6 separate regions of the Homo sapiens genome follow, and all the other regions are linked to region 1. Evidence: promoter capture Hi-C in human tissues and cell types (Jung and others, 2019). All regions are on one chromosome and are shown on one strand. The core of a region is centred on a gene start or on the middle of the fragment in contact, and the rest is flanking DNA. Distances in the headings are between cores, read along the strand shown. Region 1 holds the start of DNAH10OS (dynein axonemal heavy chain 10 opposite strand). Region 2 overlaps ZNF664-RFLNA (ZNF664-RFLNA readthrough). Region 3 overlaps ATP6V0A2 (ATPase H+ transporting V0 subunit a2). Region 4 overlaps ZNF664-RFLNA (ZNF664-RFLNA readthrough). Region 5 overlaps ATP6V0A2 (ATPase H+ transporting V0 subunit a2). Region 6 overlaps DNAH10 (dynein axonemal heavy chain 10).

The links. The method cuts DNA at HindIII sites, captures the fragments that hold promoters and counts their contacts. A contact is called where the count stands out against the background at its distance.
Region 2: a fragment that was not itself captured here is called in contact with the fragment with the promoter of DNAH10OS in region 1 in 3 of the 25 tissues and cell types used here (bladder, mesenchymal stem cells and pancreas).
Region 3: a fragment that was not itself captured here is called in contact with the fragment with the promoter of DNAH10OS in region 1 in 2 of the 25 tissues and cell types used here (hippocampus and mesenchymal stem cells).
Region 4: a contact is called between a fragment that was not itself captured here and the fragment with the promoter of DNAH10OS in region 1, in 2 of the 25 tissues and cell types used here (mesendoderm cells and thymus).
Region 5: a fragment that was not itself captured here is called in contact with the fragment with the promoter of DNAH10OS in region 1 in 4 of the 25 tissues and cell types used here (dorsolateral prefrontal cortex, lymphoblastoid cells, mesenchymal stem cells and 1 more).
Region 6: a fragment that was not itself captured here is called in contact with the fragment with the promoter of DNAH10OS in region 1 in 6 of the 25 tissues and cell types used here (bladder, dorsolateral prefrontal cortex, heart right ventricle and 3 more).

Annotation. Positions count from the first base shown.
Region 1 is chr12:123,933,674-123,936,345 of GRCh38, forward strand. DNAH10OS (dynein axonemal heavy chain 10 opposite strand) reads right to left here and starts at 1,311. Exons shown (of 2, transcript NR_187476.1): 1 at 392-1,311. It overlaps DNAH10 (dynein axonemal heavy chain 10), which reads left to right. Exons shown (of 79, transcript NM_001372106.1): 78 at 948-1,093; 79 at 1,662-2,041. The coding sequence ends at 1,808. It overlaps CCDC92 (coiled-coil domain containing 92), which reads right to left. Exons shown (of 5, transcript NM_025140.3): 5 at 1,953-2,672. The HindIII fragment of the contact is 2,982 bases long and covers 267-2,672 here.
Region 2 is chr12:124,147,959-124,150,630 of GRCh38, forward strand. ZNF664-RFLNA (ZNF664-RFLNA readthrough) reads left to right here. Exons shown (of 5, transcript NM_001347902.2): 3 at 1,637-1,833. Among named protein-coding and RNA genes, the nearest start is that of RFLNA, 150 kb to the right of the region's middle. The HindIII fragment of the contact is 4,759 bases long and covers 1-2,672 here.
Region 3 is chr12:123,716,681-123,719,352 of GRCh38, forward strand. It overlaps ATP6V0A2 (ATPase H+ transporting V0 subunit a2), which reads left to right. Exons shown (of 20, transcript NM_012463.4): 2 at 1,943-2,021. All of the region lies in intron 1 of LOC105370042 (a long non-coding RNA gene), which reads right to left. Among named protein-coding and RNA genes, the nearest start is that of ATP6V0A2, 5.7 kb to the left of the region's middle. The HindIII fragment of the contact is 3,053 bases long and covers 1-2,672 here.
Region 4 is chr12:124,119,618-124,122,289 of GRCh38, forward strand. The region is part of intron 2 of ZNF664-RFLNA (ZNF664-RFLNA readthrough); the gene reads left to right. Among named protein-coding and RNA genes, the nearest start is that of ZNF664-RFLNA, 150 kb to the left of the region's middle. The HindIII fragment of the contact is 4,377 bases long and covers 1-2,672 here.
Region 5 is chr12:123,751,790-123,754,461 of GRCh38, forward strand. ATP6V0A2 (ATPase H+ transporting V0 subunit a2) reads left to right here. Exons shown (of 20, transcript NM_012463.4): 17 at 494-613; 18 at 2,631-2,672. Among named protein-coding and RNA genes, the nearest start is that of DNAH10, 9.2 kb to the right of the region's middle. The HindIII fragment of the contact is 4,485 bases long and covers 1-2,672 here.
Region 6 is chr12:123,783,094-123,785,765 of GRCh38, forward strand. DNAH10 (dynein axonemal heavy chain 10) reads left to right here. Exons shown (of 79, transcript NM_001372106.1): 7 at 14-171; 8 at 854-1,084; 9 at 2,653-2,672. The region is part of intron 4 of LOC105370044 (a long non-coding RNA gene); the gene reads right to left. Among named protein-coding and RNA genes, the nearest start is that of DNAH10, 22 kb to the left of the region's middle. The HindIII fragment of the contact is 4,104 bases long and covers 1-2,672 here.

The DNA.
Region 1 (2,672 bases), core at 61-2,560:
TCTTAACACCTCTGAGGGTGGATACGGAAGTTTCTCTTCCACTTTCTCCGTTGAGACCTGGGGTCTATGGCAGGGGAGACCTGAACCATGTTCACTCTGCTAGCTCATGGCAAGTGGGCTCCTAGGTCAGAATTAGCTCTTGCAAAAACCATCAGGTGGCTTTCTTGTAACCCCTGACGGGGCCAGGGGCATGGGAGCCACAGAGCAGCATGGACTAACTTGGTTGGAACTCTTTGATTATGCCAGAACTTCAGGTCCCTTAGACATTGGTTACTGACTGTGCAAATGAGAGCTGGAAACTGCTGTTTCCCCGGGTCCATGTTGTCTTAGAGTTCTTTTAACTGCAAGGAACAAAAGCTCTTTTGAGATGGCTTAAGGACTGGGGACTTACGGTAAAGATGCAGGGACTCTCCAGGTCTCAGTGGCAGGGGAGGTGGCAGGTGTCCGGGCCACCACTCTCTCTGGGGCCACAGGAGTGTGTTCCTCTCTTTGCACATCTGCTGGGTCCTCCTCCCCGGAGACCACTTTCTCTGTGAGGCTTCGACTTCCTGCTCCCCAGCCACTTCGGCTCACAGGGTAGCTGGGGTTGCCATGGTGCCCATTCTGACTCTGGGACCATGCATCTTTCTAGCCTGGGGGCCCAGGGTGGTCTAAGTCCGTGGGCCTTGATGCCCCAGGAATGAGGATTCCTGGGGGAGAGGCCACCGCCCCACACCCATTTCTCTGGGCCATGGGGCAGGGCCACAGGGTCTCCTGTCTGGGCTGCTCCTCCACAGAGGGAAGGTGGGCAGGACAGAAATGCTGGAGAAGGGCCTGGGCTGTCCCCAATGCGCTGGGGAGGAGGCCAGCCAGTGGCCTGTGTGTCGCTGTGTGTGCGCCTGATAGAGCCACTCCGTGGCAGGCTGTGCATGCTCCAGTTGTATCCAGTCTCTGCCTTGTGTCCCTAGGATGCTTTGTCTCAGGACTGTACCTGGAAGGTGCTGACTGGGATATAGAAAAAGGATGTCTTATCAAGAGCAAACCCAAGGTGCTGGTTGTGGACCTGCCGATCCTGAAGATCATCCCCATTGAAGCCCATCGCCTCAAGCTGCAGGTGAAGGTCCCAGCCCCTCCTCTCTGACACCAGGGCCCTTCCTCTTCTGACTGTAGTTATGGCTGAGGTGGTTTCCAACAGTCCTACTTTTTAAAACAGGGGTGCCTAAGCTTTATGGGCTGGGGAGAGTCTTGGAGCCGTGATAAAAGCTACGGATAGCTGCTTCCTGGAAAAGGCGCGGCTGTATGTGTGTGTGGATGCCGGTCCTTCCAGAGGTGTCAGGCTCAAGCTGTGATCCTGTGGTCTAGACTAACCAAGGGGAGACTCCCTCCCTTCTTGCAAAATGCTGCAGACATTGCCTGAGTCATAAAGTGGTTCCCGCTGGTGTGGACAGCAGATGTCTTCTGCTCTGCCTGGGCCAGGACCCACTTTTAACCAGGGTGTCAGTGTGAAGCCAGGTCCCCGTGAAGCTGGCGGAGGGTGGCCCTGAGCAGCCCCAGCCTTGTGCGTGTTCTCAGGTGCAGTCTTGCACAGGGGCCCCTGCCTGTCAAGACTTACACTGCACCTCTGCCTTTATCCCTCTGCACCCTCTCTCCGTGGGGGCATCTCACCTGCCTTTCCCTTGCAGAATACTTTCCGGACCCCCGTCTACACCACCTCCATGAGAAGGAACGCCATGGGAGTCGGCTTGGTTTTTGAAGCTGATCTCTTTACCACGAGGCACATTTCTCACTGGGTGCTGCAAGGAGTATGCCTCACCCTGAATTCTGATTAACCTTTGGGTGAAGAAAACTGCTTAATGAATTCGGAGCCTGGGGTTGTCAGAGTGATCGGGTCTGCTGTCATTTCTTGGGGCCTCTCAAGAGGCAGGAGGGGGACTGACACTGATTTTTCATTTGAAATCAGCCACTTAAATCTCTTTCCATACAAATTAACCTGAATGGTTTTGTTTTTAATACTACTTTTTAAAAGGAATTTATATAATCAAAAAGTAAATATTGGAGAGTATTTTAAGATGTGTGGAGTTTTCTTTTCCTTCTCAGAGAAAACACTTGATTAGGCAAAAGTGCCTGGCATACATAGCATTGGCACAAGTGAGAATCCTAATGTAATTTCCAAAGGTGTGTTTTCGATGATCCAGGTCTGTTTCAGCAGATGCTCCTTTTTGGCAAGAAGGGCTGATGATGTCGGGCACAGAGCAGAAGTGACCAGTCACCTGGAGCCACTTCTCCCCCTTCCAGAACTCTCTGGCCCTAGCTTCTTTGGCTCTGACCTGCTACGGCGACTGTGAAGTTGTTGAGCTTAGTGTTTAGTTCCTGCATGAGCTTCTACCCCCAGCCTGCCTGGGTCTGTGTGGGGTCAGGTAAGGACACAGAACCTCCAGGACCAGTGGTCACTGGGCACCCCTTCCCTCTGTGCACCATGAGGCTGGCCTGGAGCCCTGGCTGGCCACCTGGAGGTGAGGGGTGGCTTCACTCCATGAGGGAGGAGAGGGGCTAGCACGGGCAGCACAGTGGGCAGGGGCCATCAGAGGCAAAAGCAGCTTCCCACAGAAGCTCAGGAGCGCAGCACATTCTAAGGACTAGCTCTGGGCCGGGAGGAGGCCGGAGTCGCTTCTGGGACCTGTGATTGCTCTCCC
Region 2 (2,672 bases), core at 89-2,588, 210 kb after region 1:
GCATCTGTAGGCCATTTTGGAGGAGTGACCTAGTGACTGCAAAACGCTTAGAACAGTGCCTAGCACGTAATAAACACTCAGCAAATGTGGCTGCTGTTATAATTACTTTTTTTGTTTGTTTTGTTTTGTTTTGAGATGGAGTTTGGCTCTTGTTGCTCAGGCTGCGGTGCAATGGCACGATCTCAGCTCACTGCAACCCCCGCCTCCCAGGTTCAAGCGATTCTTGTGCCTCAGCCTCTCGAGTAGCTGGGATTATTATAGGCACCCACCACCATGCCTGGCTAATTTTTTAAATTTTTACTAGAGACGGAGTTTTACCATGTTGGCCAGGCTGGTCTCGAACTTCTGACCTCAGGTGATCCACCCACCTTGGCCTCCGAAAGTGCTGGGATTACAGGCATGAGCCATCATGCCCAGCCCGTTGTAACTAATTATTCTTCTCTTTGTCTTAGACAGGGATGTATTTGGCCTTAAATGGCACACAGTCTGCAATGCTTGAGGGATGTCCCCTAAGAGGACTAAAGAACTGACAAAGGAGAAGAAGGAAATAATGGGACAGGAGGAAGCAACAGTGAGAAGAGGAGGGGAGTGGGCAGGAGGAAATAAGGACAGGAAGAAAAAGAGGCCAATGTAGGGGAGAGAGGGGCAGCTGGTCCCTGGAGCCGTCTATGTCCCTGGTTTGCAGAGAACATTCCCAAGGGAGTCGTGTTCCTGTTGCTCATTAATTCCCTGGTCAACTGGCCCCTTGTCGGGCTCTTGCCTGGAGCAGTTGAGTGTCCTCTAACTGGGAGCAGCTGAAACTTAAAGGGTTTTGCACCGTATGTTGTTTCCGGAGCTCCCTTTTTCCTGTGGCTTCTGTTTTTCTTATTAAATGCTGCTGCTGAATTTGCAGCTGAAAGAAAGACAGAAAGACTACTGAAGAAGGCCTTGCCGCCCTAAAAGCTTCAGTGGAGCAGTGGGTCTCCACGCTCGGAGGTGCTTTCTGGCTGTCCAGTTTACAAATGAACTGGCAAGGCAAGCTAGACCTTTCATCCAAGAATCCAGATTAATGTTGCCTCCGAGTGTTTGAAGGAGCCACAAGGTCTGACTTACGCATGGCTCTTTCTTCCTGGCAGAACCTGATAGGTCTGTTTCTGTTGTTATATCTGGGGAGCTTCTCACCAGGAAGGGACAAGCTTGTAAAAAACTTGGTGAGTTTATGTCTGGTCGGCAGTCGCAGGAATACTGGACCAGTTGAGGGAGGTTCTGGGACCCCTACATCTTTCCACTGCTTCCTGAGCCAGAGAGTGTAAGGGGAGAGGAAAGAATTCGCTCTTCTCTGCTGAAGTCCGGAAGCTGTAATGGGGTAACAGCCAGAACCAGGGGAGCCAGACTAGAGGCTTGGATTTTCTGCTTATGAGTGCACCCCCCAAACATCCAGAACTCCGTGGGCCTCCCAGGGTTGAAGCAACAAGCCACAGGTCCAGCACTTGGCTTTGGGACCCCCGGTCTCAGCAGTGGCTGTGTGTCCACCCATACGTTTGTTACTCAGCATCACTGTGGCCACTGCTGACTGATACTTATGAGGTGCTCAAAAGTCACTGACAAAGCAGCTGCCTGAGCTCACCTTGTCCTCATCACCTTTTCTCCTTTCCAGGCCGCACTTGGTGAGAGTCTTCACGGACCACAGTGTTGCACGAGGTGATTGTGTTTGCAGAGGTTTTTTTGTCCTTGAAGAGCACTTAGGGCTGGAGAGCAAGACACATGCTGACGAGCAGAAGCTGACAGGCTTGCTGCCATGTGGGAAAGTCCTTGGACGAGTTGTCTGCTTGCGGAGAGGTGTCTGCGGCTCAGGTAGGGTGTCCCAGCTCGGTGGGTCTCTGGGTTCCAGAGTTCCAGAGTTTATTTGGTGAAACACAGCAGGGGTTATCACTGTGGCCCATGGCAGGGCTGAGCTGCCAACTTGATGCCCGTTGTTAGGAACAGATGTGAATTGTGTGTCCGGGTGAATAAGCCTCACTGTGGAGCCTCCATGCTGTAGAGAACTGGAGGAGCCAGGTTTGCAGAGTCTGCAAGGCGATCGTGTCTATGCGAGGAGAAATCCCTCACTCGGAGGGATTGCATTCCAAGAGGGCTGGGAAGTGAAGCCCAGTCTTCGTGACTTCTCTTTTCAGACCCAGGAAACATGGGTTCTGTGTTCCCTAAAAGTACCTGGTAGACCATTTATCACGTGAGACCTAGTTATTTGTCTACTATATGCCAGGCACTAGAAGTAAAATGATGATGAAGTCATGGACCCTGAGTTGAGAGAGCTTGATGGCTAATGAGAGAGGTGATTACAATACAGCATGACGAATGAGATAACAGGAATAAGAGGAGGCTCATGCGGCCTAAGCATGATGGCTGGAGGGAGTCTTTTCCCAGGAGACAAGGGGGCCGTTGCAAGAGGAGGCCAGATGGGGAGGGGAGGGGCGCGGCAGGCAGAGGGAACAGCCCTGCTGAAGACAGGCAGGCTGGAGAAAACTCCATGTGCTGTGGACCTGGGAGTAATTAATTTCCCCTGAAAGCAGAGGGGGGCTGTTTTTCATGCTTATTTGTATTGTATATTTCATCTTTTGTAAAGTTCCCATTGTGTTTTAAAATTTCCCTTTGGGTTTTAAAAATGCCTGCACACATTCTTTGATACTCTTCCC
Region 3 (2,672 bases), core at 57-2,556, 220 kb before region 1:
CTCAGGAGGCTGAGGCAGGAGGATCGCTTGAACCTGGGAGGCAGAGGTTGCAGTGAGCTGAGATTGCGCCACTGGACTTCAGCCTAGGCGACAGTGAGATCCTGTCTCAAAAAAAAAAAAAAAGAGTTTATAGAGTCATGCATCCATTGCCACAATTGTTTTAGAACATTCCATCACCCCAGAAGATTCTTAATGCTCATTTACAGTTAATCCTTATTCCTACCCCCACCCCCCCAGCACCCACTAATCTGCTTGCTGCCTCTAGGGTTGTCTGGACATTCCATGTAAGTGGAATCGCACAGTATGTGGCTTCTTGTGTCTGGCTGCTTTCACTTAGTATGAAAGTCATCCAGGGTGGGCGTGGTGGCTCACGCCTGTAATCCTAGCATTTTGGGAGGCCGAGGTGGGCGAATCATCTGAGGTCAGGAGTTTGAGACCAGCCTGGCCAACATGGTGAAACCCCATCTCTACTAAAAATACAAAAATTAGCCGGGGGTGGTGGCACTTGGCTGTAATCCCAGCTACTCGGGAGGCTGAGGCAGGAGAATCGCTTGAACCTGGAAGGCGAAGGTTGCAGTGAGCCAAGATACTGCCAGTACGTTCCAGCCTGGGCAACAGAGCGAAACTCTGTCTCAAAAAAAAAAAAAAAAAAAAAAGAGAAAGTCATCCCTGTTGTTGCATGGGTCAGTAGTTCATTCCTTTTTATTGCTAAGTAGCATTCCATTGTGTGGATATAGACTGTAATTTCTTTTCTTTTCTTTCTTTCTTTTTTTTTTTTTTTTGAGACAGGCTCTTGCTTTGTCACCCAGGCTAGAGTGCAGTGGTGTGATCACTGCTCACTGCAATCTCGATCTCCTGGGCTCAAGCAATCCTCCTGCCACAGCCTTCTGAGCAACTGGGACCACAGGCGTGCACCACCAGGCCTGGCTAATTTTTTATTTTTTGGAGAGATGGTGTCTTACCATGTTGCCCAGGCTGGCCTCAAACTACTGGCCTCAGGTAGTCCTCCCACCTCAGCCTCCCAAATTGCTGGGATTATCAACACGAGCTGCTGTGCCTGGCTATAATTTCTTTAACTACGCTACTGTAATTTCTTGAACTAGTTTTCTATTGTTGGATTTTTGGGTTATCATTTTTTCTTTTTCCCTGAGATTGATGTTGTCATAGATTTTCATCTGTTTCCATAGCTTTTTCCTTAGGTTAAATTTTCTTCATGGGGTATTGCTGGGCAAATAATCATTTTCAGGATTTTTTCTTTTTTTGACCCAGGGTCTCACTGTGTCACCTGGGCTGGATTGCAGTGGTGTGATCTCAGCTCCATCCAACCTCTGCCTCTCGGGCTCAAGCAATTCTCGTGCCTCAGCCTTCCAAGTAGCTGGAATTACTTAGGTGCGCCACCATGCCTGGCTAATTTTTTTTTTTTTTTTGAGATAGTGTCTTGCCCTGTTGCCCAGGTTGGAGTGCAAATGGCACGATCTTGGCTCACTGCAACCTCCGCCTCCTGGGTTCAAGCAATTTTTCCACCTCAGCCTCCCGAGTAGCTGGGATTACAGGTACTTGCCATCATGCTTGGCTAATTTTTGTGTTTTCGTAGAGGTGGGATTTCACCATGTTGGCCAGGCTGGTCTTGAACTCCCGACCTCAAGTGATCTGCCCGCCTCATCCTCCCAAAGTGCTGGGATTACAGGCGTGAGCTACCGCCCCGGCCTAATTTTTGTATTTTTAGCAGGGTTGGGGTTTCACCGTGTTGGCCCGGCTGGATTTTCAGGCTTTTTTGGTAACAGTTGACAAATTGCTCTCAAGAAAAGTTGTGTCAGTTTATAGTTTCATTCAATAGTATACAAGAGTGTACATCCCCCAAACTTTGGTGATGTTTTATTTTTTACATAAAAGTATTTTTAAATTTTAGAAATTTAAACCATATTTTTCATCCTTTTCTCAGCTCAACCAGAACGTAAGTTCTTTCCAAAGAAAATTTGTTGGTGAGGTGAAGAGGTGTGAAGAGCTAGAGCGAATATTGGGTAAGTTTATTTTCTGATTTAACAACTTAAATAATTACCTTTATATAGGCAAACCTTGTTCGGTTTAAAAATATTGGAAAATATAGACAAGCAGAAAGGAAAAAAAGAAATTGTATTCTCATTCAGAAGTAATCACAGTTATGTAGGCATGTATTATTTTTCTGTATTTTTTTATTCATCTATAAAAGTAAAAATTTACAAACATAATGGCCTGGTTATTTTGTTGTTACCCTTGTTTTTTACTTAACAGTGCTTACTATAACATCTTTTCGTGTCAGTAGACATAGATATTTACCCATCATCGTTTTTGATGGCAGCATACTATTTGATTGTATTAATATTAATGTGCTGTGGCTTATTTAACCGATCCCTTGTAGTTTATTATAACTTAAAAACATTGTACTTGTTAATAAGTTACTTAATTTAAAATTTTTTCAAGGAACAAGGGAGGCGGGAAATGGAAGATAGAGTGATTGACAATAATTTCCTTTTTCTCAGGGCTTCCTTTGCCAGTGTGTTAGATCAGTGCTGATTGTTAACCATTTCAACTAAGCAGCCCAGGGCCACTTCTTTTATCTCTAAAGTCTTTACCATCTTAGTCTGGTACTAGTCATTATCAAATCAAGCCTTGACATTCTCACTGAAGTGGAG
Region 4 (2,672 bases), core at 48-2,547, 190 kb after region 1:
TTCTTGTCCCCATCTTCTCCATGTTGAGTCTGTTCTTGGGCTTCTCCTGTGGCCACCGGCAGCACCAGTCTCACCAGGCGCTCACAAGATGGCAGCACCAGTGCCCGCTCTTGGAAGAAAAGAGAAAACCGGGCCGGGCGCGGTGGCTCACGCCTGTAATCCCGGCATTTTGGGAGGCCGAGGCGGGTGGATCACCTGAGGTCAGGAGATCGAGATCATCCTGGCTAACATGGTGAAACCCCGTCTCTACTAAAAATACAAAAAATTAGCAGGGCATGGAGGCATGTGCCTGTAGTCCCAGCTACTCAGGAGGCTGAGGCAGCAGAATCGCTTGAACCTGGGAGGCAGAGGTTGCAGTGAGCTGAGATCGCGCTATTGACACTCCACACTGGGCGACAGAGCGAGACTCCGTTTAAAAAAAGAAAAAGAAAAGAAAGAAAACTGGCGCCTGGGTTCCAGCATTCTCATTGGCTCCTGTGGAGTCATGTGTCAACCCTTGAGCCAATCACATGGCTGTGGGTCCCTGGGTTCCTGCTGCCTGGGTGGGGCCCCATCTGAACCCCTTCTCTGAGAGCTCTTGGGTGTGGGTCCCTGGAGGGAAACTGGGGGCTGTTTAGGAAGAAAATCAACATGCCCAATGTCTGCTGGATCAGTGAACCCGATTATGATAAAATAAAAATATCGAGAACTCTCAAATTTGCCTAAACCTGGGCACCCCAGGTGTTTGCCCATTAGTGCCTCTGTATGAGTCACCTTGGTTTTCTAGGTTCATGGATCTACCCCATGTCTCCACATTCTTGGATATTTATAAGAACCTTTCCACATTCAGAGTGGGGCTAGAGGAGGAAAAAACTTACTTGCTTGATTAATTAAATCAATTACTTAATACCCTAAAGCTTTCTGATGCTGTAAAGTGCAGGTTTCATATACTGGGCATGAGGGGTTTTCATAGACTCGACTTGTGTTGCAAATTAAAACAACGTTAAATTCCTTAGTAATCCTAGCAGAAAGGAAAAAAAAAAAAGTAAGAAAAAAGAAAAGGGAAAATAAAACCCCTCTTATTTCCAAATCACTACCAGTGGAATTTAAAAAATTATTTACACACTTAGCTGTGAGTCCCTTTATACCTGACAGGTTTGCCAGTAAGGCTGGAGCAATAATTTAAAACAGAAGTTGGGAGTATGGATAATGAACTCCCTCTCTTTTCCAAAATAAATGTACCATCGGATCCACAAGAGAGGTGACTTTTCCTAAGAAAGGACTGTACGTTTGGGAGCCAGGGGCCCCTGATGCTGTGTGAGGTAAGCCGATAGCACAGTGTGTTACTGTCTGTGGATGCGAGAATGAAATGAGGGCTGTTTCTTTGATTTATAGTGGAAGGAAACACCAATTTCTTGTCACAGATCATTACAGTTGAATTTAGGTCAAACTCATATGCTTATATGGAATTACTAATGCATGGAGGTACTTTTTGCTTTTTGTTTTTAACTCGCCAATCATTATCTACAGGATTTTTCTCGGGGGAGGTGGGGGATGGAATTTCACTCTGACACCCAGGCTGTAGTGCTGTGGCGTGATCTCAGCTCACCGCAACCTCCGCCTCCCAGGTTCAAGAAATTCTCCTGCCTCAGCCTCCTGAGTAGCTGGGATTACAGACATGTGCCACCACGCCCAGTTAATTTTTGTATTTTTAGTAGAGACGGGGCTTCACCGTGCTGGCCAGGCTGATCTTGAACTCCTGACCTCAAGTGATCCGCCTGCATCGGCCTCCCAAAGTGCTGGGATTACAGGTGTGAGCCACCGTGCCTGGCCATCGACTGAATATTATACTGAATTTTATTTTGAAAACAGAGAAGACTCCATTCTCTGCCTCCTGATGTACACATTCCGGAAGGGGTCATTGTTGGATGGTTGAGTGCATTGGGGTTATATTGAAATGGATTTGGGAAGGCTCTACAGCAAGGAAGGAATCTTCAGGTCTCTAGAATGTTCCTAGGCTGCTTCTCAGAGTGAGAGTCTGTAGTGGACACTGCCAGGGTCCAACCCATATCTCTCCAATGGCCATCATGCTCAACTCAACTCCCAAACACCTGCACCCTGGAAGACCACTTTTCCCAGCCAGCAGCTGGAAGTGCTGGGGGTTCCACTGCCCCCAAGAAACCCTCAACCAATGGCCCTAAGCAGTTGGTGTATAAATACCCCAGTTCCCTTGTTCCTCAGGTGGCATCATTCTTCTTTAAAAAGACTTCTTTATTTTGTAATTATTTTATTTTACTTTATTTTATTTATTTATTTGTTTTTGAGACAGAGTCTCGCTCTGTCGCCTAGACTGGAGTGCAGTGGCATGATCTCGGCTCATTGCAACCTCCGCTTCCCGGGTTCAAGTGATTCTCCTGCCTCAGCCTCCCGAGTAGCTGGGTTTACAGGTGTGTGCCACCATGCCTGGCTAATTTTTTGTGTTTTTAGTAGAGACAGGGTTTCCCCATGTTGGCCAGGCTGGTCTTGAACTCCTAACCTCAAGTGATCTGCCTGCCTTGGCCTCCCAAAGTTCTGGGATTACTGACATGAGCCTCCGTGCCTGGCCTATTTTGTAATAATTTTAAACTTACAGAAAATCGCAAGAAAGAGCTGAGAGTTTCCATATACCCTTTTCCCAGATTCCTCTAATGTCG
Region 5 (2,672 bases), core at 93-2,592, 180 kb before region 1:
ATGCCTTTTTCCATATTCGTCTTAATTTCTTCTTTAAGATTTTCTTTTTTCTTTTCTTTTCTTTCTTTCTTTCTTTTTTTTTTTTTTTGAGACTGGAGTCTTCGTCTGTTGCCCAGGCTGGAGTGCAGTGGCACTATCTCAGCTTACTGCAACCTCTGCCCTCCGGGTTCAAGCAATTCTCTTGCCTCAGCCCTCAAATAGGGGGACTACAGGCGCCCGCCACCACGCCCTGCTAATTTTTGTATTTTTTGTAAAAGACGGGGTTTTGCCATGTTGCACAGGCTGGTCTTGAACTCCTGACCTCAGGTGATTCACCTGCCTCGGCTTCCCAAAGTGCTGTGATTACAGGTGTGAGCCACTGTGCCTAGCCTAAAGAACTTTTTTATTCTCAAAGAGCTGAATCATTAAGAGAAACAAAGAAACTATACAAGTTTGGTTTTGTCACAACCTTGTGGTTTTACAGGCACTGACTCTGTGCTCTTTTGGTTGTTAGAGTGGCTACACACTTATAAGGAAAGATAGTGAGGAAGAAGTTTCATTGCTGGGAAGCCAAGATATAGAAGAGGGAAATCACCAGGTGGAAGATGGATGTAGAGAAATGGCGTGTGAAGAGGTAAATCTTTTCAACTGCTATTGATAAACTTAGATAAGTAACCAAGCTTCCATAGAGATAATCATGTTAAGATAATATTTAATCATCTTAAAAAATGGTTAAGAAAATGGGACTTCCAGCCTCCACAACTATGAGAAACCAGCGCTTTCCAAATGCTGTTTGATGATAGAGTTGGTGGCATTATATGAGTTCGGGTCATTTTGTCCTTTCACTTCGCCAGTGGGATTTCTGCTGTTATATTAAGAGTTATGATTGGAGTGACTTAAGGTGCCATGAACATTGCTTTCAGAAGCTTCTTGGGTCAGTCAGAACTTTTCCATAGTTGCAAGAAATAGAGACCCAGTTTTTTCTGATTGCGAAGGGATTTTACTGGCTCATGGCAGGACAGAGGTAGAGTTGGTTTCAGGATAATTACAGTTTTGGGGTCTCCAATTCCAAGAGGCCTTGGTTGGCTTTTTTTCTTTGTAAGTTTTCTTTATATTGTGAAGTCAGTTGGCCCCATGATGCTAGAACCATGGTCACAAGTTGCCCTGGGCTTATTTTTTCAGTCTTTCCATTAGAGAGCAAAGCGCCCTTACCAGCTTGTTACTATTAGGAAAGAATCCCCAAATACCTGCCATCCCTGGACCAGTGACTGCTGCCTCAGTCCCCTTTACGAGTGACCGCTGCCTCAGTCCCCTTCACCAGTGACTGCTGCCTGAGTCCCCTGGACCGGTGTCTGCTCAGTCTCCCTTACCAGTGACCACTGTGTCAGTCCCCTTTACCAGTGACTGCTGCCTGAGTCCCCTGGACCGGTGTCTGCTCAGTCTCCCTTACCAGTGACCACTGTGTCAGTCCCCTTTACCAGTGACTGCTGCCTTAGTCCCCTTTACCAATGACTGCGTTCTCAGTCCCCTGGACCAGTGACTGCTATCTTAGTCCGCTGGGGCTGCCATAACAAAATACCACGGACTGGGTGGCTTCAACAAGAGACTTGTTTCTCACAGCCCCGGAGGCTGGCAGGCCCGGACTGAGATGCTGGCAGGCTGCTTTCCCCTGAGGCCTCCCTGCTCAGCTTGCTGTGTCGGCACAGGGCCTTTCCTCTGTGCCTGCACCCCTGTTTCTCCTGCTCTTCCCAGAAGACAGTAGTCACAGTGGGTCAGGGCCCACCTCCTGACCTCACTCAACCTTGATTACCTCCTCAAAGGTTCTGTCTTCAAATACAGTCACATTGCGGTTAGGGCTTCAGCATAAGACTTTTGGGAACATAATTCAGAGCCAGTGTGGTTGGGGGTACGAGGCTGGACAGGGAAGTAGCGGCTCCCCGCAAAGAACAGAGGTGCAGTCCCAGGAAGACAGCAGAGCATGGCCTCCTTTCTTTTCATGGAAACTTTATTTTGGCCATTTAGTGAGGACCAAACAAAATGTCTTATAATCAACATTTTGTAATTATTATGTAATTTCGTGTTTTAATTCGGGACAATTAATAATTAAGTTCTAGGATCATAGAGAAACAAAAGCAGAGCTGGAAAGCGCATGAGAGTCACCTTGCCTGGTGCTTTGCAGCCCTTTCCCTGTCAGGGGCCCCTTGCATAGTTTTCCCTGGTTGGCTCTACTTAGAATGCTCACATCTAGTGAATCGCAGTCTACTCTTAGGGTTGGTGAATACCTATTTTATCAGTAGATGTTTCATAATTACTGAGACCTGCCCCAGAATCCCATTAGTATAGCAGCTGTGGCCACGGCAGTTCCTCTGGTCTACCTTCTTGGTTTACACAGGGGAGTCTGAGGCGTGCGGTGGGAGTGGGGCTGATGAAGGTGGGGATTTGGGGTGGTAAAGTCTGGTCATGGAGCTGGGTAGTGGCAGAGTGGTGAACAGAGTGCGTCTGGGGTTTCTGTTCCTCACACTCTAGCGTGTTCTTACCAGCATCCAGCCGGCAGCTCTTTCATTGTAATCCTTGAAGTGGAACCCACTTGGCATGTAGAAGTACACATGTAACATCATGACTCTTAACATATGTTGTGTGATCTCTCTCAGTTTAATTTTGGAGAAATATTAATGACCCAAGTAATCCATTCC
Region 6 (2,672 bases), core at 98-2,597, 150 kb before region 1:
TTTATTTTCCTAGGTGAGATCAAGTTAGAAATGCCAATCATCAGTGTGGAGGGAGAGGTGTCTGACCTGGCAGCTGACCCGGAAACCGTTGACATCTTGGAGCAGTGTGTGATAAACTGGCTGAATCAGATATCCACAGCGGTTGAGGCCCAACTGAAGAAGACACCTCAGGTAGTTTGTGCAGGGCTTTCAGAGAGCCCCGATCCAGGTCATGCTTACCATGCTGGGAAAGAGCCCGGAGTCTGGGGTCTGCATCATCTGGCATCTTTTCTTACTGTTTTATGACTTCCTTAAGCCATCAAAATAAACACACCCAAAATATCATTTCTGGGCTTTCTGATGTTAATGTGCTACCAGGTTACTGCCTGGATTGATAAAGATAACACTTTGGATCAGTCAGGAAGCTTGGGCTGCCAAAAACAGGAAACCCAACTCAAGTCGATCAACTAAGAAAGCAAATTCCTTGGCTCACATAATGGAAAAGTCCAGAGGCAGGGTTGGCTTCAGGTCCAGTCTGATCAGGGCTCTGGCTATATTTCTGAATCTCTCAGTTCTAGACCCCTTTCTAGGGGCTGGAGAGCTTCATTCCTCAGGCTGGCTTCCTTGCAGCAGTTTCTGGCCTCACATTCTGTACACCTCAGTTGTCCGGAGAAAGGCAGAGTGTGTTTCTAGCATTCTCAGCTGGAGCCCTGAGATTCACTATGATTGGACCACCCAGGGTCAAGAGCCCACCCCTGAAGACCCTGAAGGATTGGAGCAGTTGGACAGAAAGAACGGATGCTGGAGAAACCACCATAAGTGTCTGCTCCACCCTAATAATGAGAGTTCTTTGTGTGTTCATTTCACCTCTCAGGGTAAAGGCCCTCTGGCTGAAATTGAATTCTGGAGGGAAAGAAATGCAACCTTAAGTGCGCTGCATGAACAAACAAAGCTTCCAATAGTCAGAAAAGTCTTGGATGTGATCAAGGAATCCGACTCCATGCTTGTGGCTAATCTGCAGCCAGTGTTCACCGAGTTATTCAAGTTCCACACGGAGGCCTCAGACAATGTGCGCTTTCTCTCCACCGTGGAGCGTTATTTCAAGGTATGCTGGGTGTGCTGCACTTTGCAGTCAGCTCTGTCAAAGAGATTTCATATGATTTAATTTCCCTTTTAAAAATGTTCAGCATTTGGCCAGGAGCAGTGGCTCATGCCTGTAATCCCAGCACTTTGGGAGGCTGAGGTGGGCAGATCGCTTGAGCTCAGGAGTTGGAAACCAGCCTGGCCAACATGGTAAAACCCTGTCTCTCCAAAAAATACAAAAATTAGCTGGGTATGGTGGTGTGCACCTGTAGTTCCAGCTACTCAGGAGGCTGAGGTGGAAGGATTGCTTGAGCCTGGGAGATGGAGGTTGCAGTGAGCCAAGATTGCGCCACTACACTCCAGCCTGGGCAACATAGCGAGACCCTGTCTCAAAAAAAACCTCAGAATTTAAAAAATTGTGATAAAATAGACATGACATGATATTATCATTTTAACCACTATTAAGCATACAGTTCAGTGGCACTAAATACATACACAATGCTGTGTGTCCATTACACTATTTCCAAAACAGTTTCATCTTCCCAAACTGGAATTCTGTGTCCATTAAACACTAACTCCCCCTTCTTCCTTACCCTAAGTCCCTGGTAACTTCTGTTCTGCTTTCTGTCTTTGTAAATCTGACTACTCTAGGGACTTCATATAAGGGGAGTCATGCAGGACTGATCCTGTGTGCAGTCTCTTTCACTCAGCACCAGGTTTTCAAGGTTCACCTGTGTTGTAGCGTGGAGCGTGTTAGTGTTTCACTCCTTTCTGTGGCAGAATCATATTCCATAGCATGGATAGACTACATTTGGTTTCTCTATTCATCAGTCGGTGGGCATTTGAGTTGTTTCTGCATTTTGGCTATTATGAAGAATGCTGCTACGAACATTCTTGTACAAGGATTTGTGTGGATGTGTGTTTTTAATTATTCATGTATTATGCATAGGAGTGGAATAGCTGGGTCATATATGGTAACTGTTTAACCTCTTGAGGAATTTCTAGACTGTTTTCCAAAGTGGTTGTCCCATTTTACATTCTGAAGAGCAATACACGAAGGTTCTGGTTTTTCCGTATCTTCACCACCACTTGTTATCGTCTTTCTGATAATAGCCATTGTGGTTTAATTTGCATTTCCTTAACAACTAGTGAGACTGAACAACTTTTTATGTACTTAATGTGCTTATTGTCAATTTCATATTGTTGGTGAAATGTCTGTTTTAATCTTTTGCCCGTTATTTATTTGAGTTATTATTATAAGAGATTAAAAAAAGTCTGCTCACCTGGGCAACATAGTGCGACCTCATCTCTACAAAAATAAAAATAAAAAATTAGCCGGTGTAGTGGTGCATGCCTGTATTCTCAGCTTACTTGGGAGGCTGAGGTGGGAGGATCACTTGAGTCCGCAGGGGAGTCGAGGCTGCAGTAAGCCATGTTTGTGCCATTGCACTCCAGCCTGGGCACCAGACTTGGTCTCAAGGAAAAAAAAAAAAAAAAAAGAGTGAAACTTCTTGCATGCTTACTGTTTTATGAAACTATTTGGACCCCAAGGCTAAGGGCTCTTGCGTGGCTCTCTCCTCTCTTGGTCAGAACATAACGCACGGGTCTGG